Linked DNA regions of Homo sapiens: regions 2 and 3 are each linked to region 1. The links are contacts of gene promoters, found by promoter capture Hi-C in blood cells and fetal thymus (Javierre and others, 2016). All regions are on one chromosome and are shown on one strand. The core of a region is centred on a gene start or on the middle of the fragment in contact, and the rest is flanking DNA. Distances in the headings are between cores, read along the strand shown. Region 1 holds the start of COX6A2 (cytochrome c oxidase subunit 6A2). Region 2 has its middle 7.2 kb from the start of MIR4519. Region 3 overlaps BCL7C (BAF chromatin remodeling complex subunit BCL7C).

Region 1 (2,663 bases), core at 62-2,561:
AGCTTGCAGTGAGCCGAGATTGCACCACTGCAGTCCGCAGTCCGGCCTGGGCGACAGAGCGAGACTCCGTCTCAAAAAAAAAAAAAAAAAAAGAAAGAAAGATTATAGAGAATTATCAAAAGATTCCAAATCCAGCATTAGGTCCCAAGGCCTCACACACAGGACTGTGGAGCCTCCGTCTGAAATCCAGAGAGCTGGGATTCACAGACACCAGCAGCTCAGGTGTCAGGCAAGAAGTGGGACTTCAGGATCTGCAGCCCTGGGCTCCCATGGGGGCTCTGCCGAGCTGCCGGAACTTGGACAAGTCATTTAATTCCCAAGAATCTCAGGTCTTCCTCGGGAGAAGGTGAACTAAATTTATACCCTGCTCCCAGCGTTACTGTGAGGATTCGGTGTACGCGGAAGCCCATTACAGCCTAGAGCCCTAATTATTAATAGGTGTGTGTGAGAGGGAGGCCTCATTATTACCAGGTGAGAGACAGGGAGCTGGGATCGCCTACCTGTGAGTGGAGGAGGCTCCCTCGAGCACCTCCGTATCAGCGGCGTGGGAAAAGCACGTGGAGCGCCCACCGCGCTAGGCGCATGCGCGGAGCAGGAGCGCTTACCAAGCTGGGCGCATGCGCGGAGCGGGCGCCTCTGGGCGCGCTCCCCGTGGCCCCGCCCTCCCCACAGAGCCGCAGACTCGAAGCTTCACACCTTTATTGTGTCCGGGGGCGTCCGGGGCCTCAGGGGTGTTCGTAGCCCGTGGGCAGAGGGTTCACGTGGCTATTGTGGAACAGAGTGTGGTTGCCGTCCCCCCAGGGGTAGGGCTGTGGAGAGAGCGGGGGAGGGAGCGCGCGTGAGCGCCGTGAGTCCGGAGTCCGCGCCCCGCGCGACCCCCCCCCCGCAGCACCCCCCCCCGCCCCCGCAGCACCCCCCCCCGCCCCCGCAGCACCCCCGTGCCGCCCGCGCGCCCGTCCCGCGTACCTTGGTGCGGATGCGGAGGTGTTGGTAGGGACGGAACTCGGGGCGCGGGCGGTGGCCCGAGTGGAGATAGGAGTTGAAGGTGCAGAGGGCCACGCTGGGCAGCGCCAGCACGAAGGTCAGCAGACGCCAGGTACGAGCTGCGGACGGAGCGGGGTGAGCGCGGCGGTCCTGGGGCGGCGGGCCTGTGAACAGGTGGGCAGGGTAGGGGAGCCCCCGGATCCGCCCGTTCCCCACTCACCTCCTGCTCCTCCGTGGCCTCCTTTGGCAGCGCTGGCCAAGCCCCGGGTCAGGGGCCTCAGAGGCAAAGCCATGATGGTGCGGGGAGCCGGGAACCAGCGCTGTCCTCGCTCCCTTTCCTGGGGCCTGGGGTCACCTCCCCTCTCTGGGCCAATCACCTGTTGAGTCTGGAGCACTGGCGGCTATTCTTAGGGGTTTCTATATTTAAAATGGGGCCTGACTGGCTTGAGGTCATCTCCAGACAGCTGTTGTCCTGTGCCTCTTATTTTGGCAAGGAGGCATTTAAGTACAATATGCCATTCTTTTTATATAGTTGCAGGGAAACTATTTTGTTCCCTATTCTATGCCTGGTGGCTGGCACACAGTTGGGCTTTAATAAATATTTGTAGAATGAATTAAGTGTCTTTTTGAGTCTCAGTGTTTTCAGCTGTAAAATGTATAATAATTCGTACCTTAAAAGATTTTTTAAATACTGGAGACGGGGATCTCACTATATTGTCCAGGCTGGTGTGGAACTCTTGAGCTCACGTGATCCTCCCGCCTCAGCCTCCCACAGTGCTGGGATTACAGGCATGAGCCACTACACGGCCCTTACATCATTTTTATGAAGTTTATGTAAGGTAGGAATGTGTCAACCTGGATTTTGGCAGGTAACAGTAGTTCAGTATATGTATTAGTCACAGTTCTTTGCAAAGAACAGAACTCACTCTTACTAGTTTTAGAAGATAAGTAATTGAGAATCTTAGGTAGCTTACTATGTCTGATATAGCCAGAGATGCCTACAGTCTGCACAGTCATAAACAAGTCATTCCGTTGGCCAGCTGCAGTGACACCCCCACAGCTCACACTGCTGGACCCTGGATGCCAAAAGCTTCATTAAGGCTGCCCTGGAAAACCAGAATTTTCCACCCTCATCCCCTCTTGAAAACAGATTCTTCATGAAACCTGTATCCTGGGTCGCTCTTTTCTGAAAGAATTATGTGATTGCACCAACTGGCAACCCCTAGGTCCCCCAGCTGCAGGAGGGGATGGGAAACTGAGCTCTGGATTCTGCCTTAGGGAGGCAGGAATTGTAGGGAAAATCTCCAGGTCTAGGATGAGTATTCAAAAGGTTCCAGGCAGCCACAAGCCTGACAGGTGTCTACTGCAAAGTGCATTATTTCAATCTGAAAAATATGACTACTTGGAGAAAGCAAGCCTAGACAGGGCTGGTGTGAACCCTCTATCAAAGCAGGTCACAAGAAAGCCACAAGACCAGGCAGGGATGACATCTGCCTGTTCTGTCCTCAGCAACGGGCAGGGACCTTGGCATGAAGGAGGTGTTCTAAAAATATGTATGTAATGAATGCTTGAACCTTGTTACTTTGGTTAACCCTACAACAATGCCTTTTCAGAATTACAATCCAATAGGAAGCTTCTAGCTTTGATCAAGGGCTGATGTACTAATATGAACTTAATAT
Region 2 (2,663 bases), core at 71-2,570, 560 kb before region 1:
GGGAGGATTATATAAGGCCAAGAGTTCACGACCAGTCTGGGCAACATAATGAGATATCTTCTCTACAAAAAGTTTAAAAATCAGCTGAGCATGGTGGTGCACACCTGTAGTCCCAACTATCCAGAAGGCTGAGGCTGGAGGATCACTTGAGCCCAGGAGTTTGAGGCTACAGTGAGCTACAATTGTGCTACTGCACTCCATCCTGGATGACAGGGAGATACCCTGTCTCAAAAACAAACAAAAGTCAGAGCTTGTCAAACCAAATGACTTTTAAAATCTAGCCATATGCAATGTATAGGAAATGCACATAAAACAAAGTGACAAAAATGTTGAAAGTTAATAGATGGACAAAAAAATTCCAGGCCCAAAAAAACATGATTGGGGGAAGGTGGGTATCATTGAGATTCTGACCATGTTTATTTCTTGGTTTGGGTGGTGGTTATAAGGATATTTTGTTTTGTAATACTATCTTAGACTATTTTTCTATGAATATTTATGTATATGGATGTTTCATAAGTGGTAGGCAGAATAATGGCCATTATTCTGATGTCCTAAAATTCCCACACCCTAACCCCTGGAACATGTGAATGTCTTAGTTTACATGGTGAAGGGATTTTGCAGGTGTGATTAAGGACCTTGAGATGCGGGTGGTCTTGGATTATCCAGGGGGGCACAATGTAATCATGTTGGTCTTTAAAATCAGAGACTCGGCCATCCCAGCACTTTGGAAGGCCGAGGCAGGCAGATCACCTGAGGTCAGGAGTTCGAGACCAGCCTGGCCAACATGGTGAAACCCCATCTCTATTAAATATACACAAATTAGCCAGGCGTGGTGGCGCATGCCTGTAATCCCAGCTACTCAGGAGGCTGAGACAGGAGAATCGCTTGAACCCGGGAGGCGGAGGTTACAGTGAGCCAAGATCGCGCCACTGCACTCCGGCCTGGGCAACAGAGCAAGACTCCATCTCAAAAAGAAAAAAATAAAATAAAATCAGAGACTTATTTCTGATTTTGATCAGAGGGAGATGTGATTGTGGAAGAATGGTCAGAAATGCAGTGTGACTGACTCTGAAGATGGAGGGAGGGGCCTCTGGAAGCTGGAAGAGAGAGTGAAACAGACTGTCCCCTAGAGCCTCCAGGAGGGAACACAGCCCTGAAGACACCCTGATTTGATTTCATTTATTTATTATTTTTTGTTGTTGTTTTACAACAATCTCTTGTCCAACAGAAACACCTCGATTTTAGCCCAGTGAGACTCATGTCAGACTTCAGACCTACGGAATTGTAATATGATAAATCTGTGGGTTTTTTTTTTTTTTTTGAGACAGAGTCTTGCTCTGTCACCCAGGCTGGAATGCAGTGGTGCGATCTCAGCTCACTGCAACCTCTGCCTCCTGGGTTCAAGCGATTCTCCTGCCTCAGCCTCCCGAGTAGCTGGGACTACAGGCGTGTACCACCCGACCCGGCTAATTTTTTTTTTTTTTTTGTATTTTTAGTAGAGACAGGGTTTCACCATGTTAGCCAGGATGGTCTCCATCTCCTGACCTCCTGATCCGCCCACCTCGGCCTCCCAAAGTGCTGGGATTACAGGCGTGAGTCACCGCACCCCGCCAAATCTGTGTTGTTTTAAGCTACTAAATTTGCTGTAATTTGTTACAGCTATAGAAAACAATACAATAGGCCAGGCGCGGTGGCTCACGCCTGTAATCCCAGCACTTTGGGAGGCCGAGGTGGGCAGATCACCTGAGGTCGGGAGTTCGAGACCAGCCTGACCAACATGGAGAAACCTGGTCTCTACTAAAAATACAAAATTAGCCAGGTGTGGTGGCACGCGCCTGTGATCCCAGCTACTTGGGAGGCTGAGGCAGGAGAATCTCTTGATCCTGGGAGGTGGAGGTTGTGGTGAGCGGAGATTGCGCCATTGCACTCCAGCCTGGGCAACAAGAGCGAAACTCCATCTGAAACAAAACAAAAAACAACAGCAACAACAAAGAAAAAGAACAGAACGGAAAAGAAAAATAATACAACAGCAAAAAAAAAAGATTTAAAAAAAATTGGCCTGTTATGCCTCTGCTTTACCTCCCTTCTCAGCTTCCACATTACACTTTTAAAATGAATCTGTAATTTTTTCTTTTTTTTTGAACTCCTGACCTCAAATGATCCACCTGCCTCAGCCTCCCAAAATGTTGGGATTACAGGTGTGAGCCACCGCACCCAGCCATGAATCTAATTTTTTCATGGCCATGGCTTTGTGAGTCGACAGTTATGGGAAAGACAAAGTAGAAAGAGTGCCGAGCTTGAAGACTGGGGCCAGAGTCGTAGTTCCAGCTTTGCTGTGTCACTCGGGGCCTATCGCTTTCCCTCTCTGAGCCTATAGCCTTCATTATTTTATTTTGTTTTTTGCGACAGGGTCTCACTCTGTCACCCAGGCTGGAGTTCAGTGGCACGATCATGGCTCACTGCAGCCTCGACCTCCCAGGTTCCAGCAATCCTCCCACCTCAGCCTCCTGAGTAGCTGGGACTACAGGCGCCTGCCACTGTGCCCAGCTCATTTTTTTTTACTTTTTGTAGAGATGAGTTCTCACTATGTTGCTGGCCTCGAACTCCTAAGCTCTAGTGGATCTCCTGCCTCTGCCTCCCAAAGTGCTGGGATTACAGGTGTG
Region 3 (2,663 bases), core at 87-2,586, 540 kb before region 1:
CTTCCCTGGACAGCACTGGCTCCACCAACACCACTGCAGCTGCTGTCGGAAGCATCCTTACATTTCCTTTGTTTGTTTAGACACAGGGTCTTGCTTTGTTGCCCAGATTTGAGCACAGTGGTGCAATCATCACTCACTGCAGCCTCAACTTCCCGGGCTCAAGCAATCTTCCCACCTCAGCCTCCCAAGAAGCTTGGACTACAGGCGCGCACCAGTATGCCTGGCTAATTTTTTCATTTTTGTCTTGCTTTGTTGCTCAAGCTGGTCTCAAACTCCTGGCCTCAAGCAGTCCTCCCACCTGTGCCTCTCAAAGGCCTGGGATTACAGGTGTGAGCCACCACACCTAGCCTACAGTTTTTAATGCTTCTTTAAAGTTCCAATTTGGTCCTCTCTGAACCTCAGTATCTTTCTTTATTAAAAATAAAAATAGGGCCAATATACATGACCCTATAGGCACAGAGTGAGAGGGCCTTATATTACTCGAAGCTTCCCACAAACCCCTGGGGCAGATGAGGCCTAGTTATTGTTCCCATTGCTCAGATGAACAAACTAAGGCTGAGAGTAGAAACAGCCTGCCTAGAGCCACTCAGGGAGTAACAGAGCCAGGACTTGAACCAGGGCTTCTGACTTGAGTTCTAGCACAGAGGTTCATGTCTCAGAGCCCAGCTCACATGCCACCTCCTCAGAGAAGCCTGCCTGGAAAACCCCAGCCCATTCATGTATTCATTTATTCATGAAGCAGCTGCTGGGACTGCCCTGTTCCCAGTGTTGTGTGGAGACCCCTCAGGAGCCCACAGCCTCGTAGACAAGACAGACACACAAACCACGGATCCCAGAACAGCCTGATAAATGATGAAACAAGGAGAATGAAGCCCAAGGGGTTGCTGGAGCTCAAAAAAGGGGAAACTCACTGAGCCTGGAGTCAGGGAAGGCTTCTCGGAGGAGATGGTGATTGAGATGGGGATAAGTTAGACCCAACCAGAAGTGTGGCCAGGCATCCCAGGTGGAGGAGTGGCTTCTTCAGGGCAGGGAATGGGTTGGTCATCCCAGGCCCCCAAGTCCCTCTGGGCCTCTGTGTTATTATGTATGAAACGTGAATAGGCTGGGCGCGGTGGCTCACGCCTGTAATCCCAACACTTTAGGAGGCCAAGGCAGGAGGAACACTTGAGCCCAGGAGTTCAAGACCAGCCTGGGCAATGTAGCGAGACCCCATGTCTACAAAAAATAAAATTAGCAGGCTGGGCATGGTGGCTCATGCCTGTAATCCCAGCACTTTGGGAGGCCGAGGCGGGCAAATCACTTGTGGTCAGGAGTTTGAGACCAGCCTGGCCAACATGGCAAAACCCAGTCTCTACTAAAAATACAAAAATTAGCCGGGCGTGGTGGCAGGCACCTCTAATCCCAGCTACTCAGGAGGCTGAGGCAGGAGACTTGCTTGAACCCAGGAGGCAGAGTTTGCAGTGAGGCGAGATTGCGCCATTGCACTCCAGCCTGGGCAACAAGAGCAAAACTCTCTAAAAAAAAATAGTGATAAATAAATAAATAAATAAATAAAATTAGCTGAGTATGGTGGCACACACCTGTGGTCCCGGCTACTTGGGAGGCTGAGGTGGGATGTCAAGGCTGCAGTGAGCCATGATCGCACCACTGCACTCCTGCCTGGGCAACAGAACAAGTCTGTGTCTCAAAAAAAAAAAAAAAAAAAAAAGAATCATGGCCTAGCTACCCAGAGTTTTGATAATTGTTAGGCCCAGGCGAGGGCTGAGCAGGAAGAGGGGTCCTGGGCCTCCCAGAGGAGGAGGTGAAGGTCGGGAGATAGGACAGACCTGGGAAGTACTGAGAGGCAGGGTCCTGGCTCAAGCCCCCACCCCACTCTGCCTTGTGGTGTCACTACAGGAAGGTCCTCTCAGAGCCTCAGTGACCACATCTGAGCAATGGTGCATGAGACAAAACTGTCTCCAAAGACCCTCCCCAGCCCTGACGGGGAAATGACATGACACAAAATTACAAAAGGGTCTTTATTTGTAAAAAGCCAAAGGGGCCCCTGGGGCAACAGGACAGGCAGGCCGGCTTCTCAGGGGTCAGGGGCATTTGGGCAGATGCGCTTGAGTGGGGGGGCACCCTCCGAGTCCTCTGTGTCACCCTGGGCTGCCTCAGGGACAGGTGGCACTGGCTCAAAGACAGGGTAAGCTTCGGGGGCCTGGAGAGGAAGGGTGGACAGGCGTGAGCTCCACAGAACCCAGGCGTCCAGCCTCTGAGCCTCTGCCTTCTCCAAAGCCTCCACTCCCCTCCCCTCCTGGGCCCGGGAGGCAAGCCCAGGGCCAGATGCCCAGGATGCAGAGGAAGCAGGCACCAAAAACAACAACGACAGTGACACTGTGTGGAGGAACGAACCTGATATTTGATATTTCTGAAAATGCCTCGAGGTAGCCTCGTGAGAAATGTCAGAGGTTTATAAGGAATTTTCTTATGCTAATTATACAGTTAGATATTTTTTGATATTTTTTGAAAATGCATGGAGGAGCGCCATGATTTTGTCAGGCTTTATTTATTTATTTATTTTTGAGAAGGAGTCTCGCTCTGTCACCCAGGCTGGAGTACAGTGGCGCGATCCTGGCTCACTGCAGCCTCCGCCTCCCGGGTTCAAGCAATTCTCCTGCCTT

Evidence for each region. The method cuts DNA at HindIII sites, captures the fragments that hold promoters and counts their contacts. A CHiCAGO score of 5 or more calls a contact.
Region 2: a contact is called between a fragment that was not itself captured here and the fragment with the promoter of COX6A2 in region 1, in 4 of 17 cell types (naive CD8 T cells, activated CD4 T cells, naive CD4 T cells and 1 more). The highest score is 8.6, in naive CD8 T cells.
Region 3: a contact is called between a fragment that was not itself captured here and the fragment with the promoter of COX6A2 in region 1, in 1 of 17 cell types (monocytes). The highest score is 5.1, in monocytes.

The regions. Positions count from the first base shown.
Region 1 is chr16:31,427,049-31,429,711 of GRCh38, forward strand. COX6A2 (cytochrome c oxidase subunit 6A2) reads right to left here and starts at 1,312. Exons shown (of 3, transcript NM_005205.4): 1 at 1,205-1,312; 2 at 967-1,103; 3 at 683-809. The coding sequence starts at 1,277. The coding sequence ends at 726. The HindIII fragment of the contact is 1,386 bases long and covers 687-2,072 here.
Region 2 is chr16:30,866,825-30,869,487 of GRCh38, forward strand. It overlaps a transcript of BCL7C not described here. Among named protein-coding and RNA genes, the nearest start is that of MIR4519, 7.2 kb to the right of the region's middle. The HindIII fragment of the contact is 4,401 bases long and covers 1-2,663 here.
Region 3 is chr16:30,885,791-30,888,453 of GRCh38, forward strand. BCL7C (BAF chromatin remodeling complex subunit BCL7C) reads right to left here. Exons shown (of 6, transcript NM_004765.4): 6 at 2,005-2,200. The coding sequence ends at 2,075. The region is part of intron 2 of MIR762HG (MIR762 host gene); the gene reads left to right. Among named protein-coding and RNA genes, the nearest start is that of MIR762, 6.8 kb to the right of the region's middle. RefSeq lists an enhancer at 1,666-2,167. The HindIII fragment of the contact is 1,704 bases long and covers 485-2,188 here.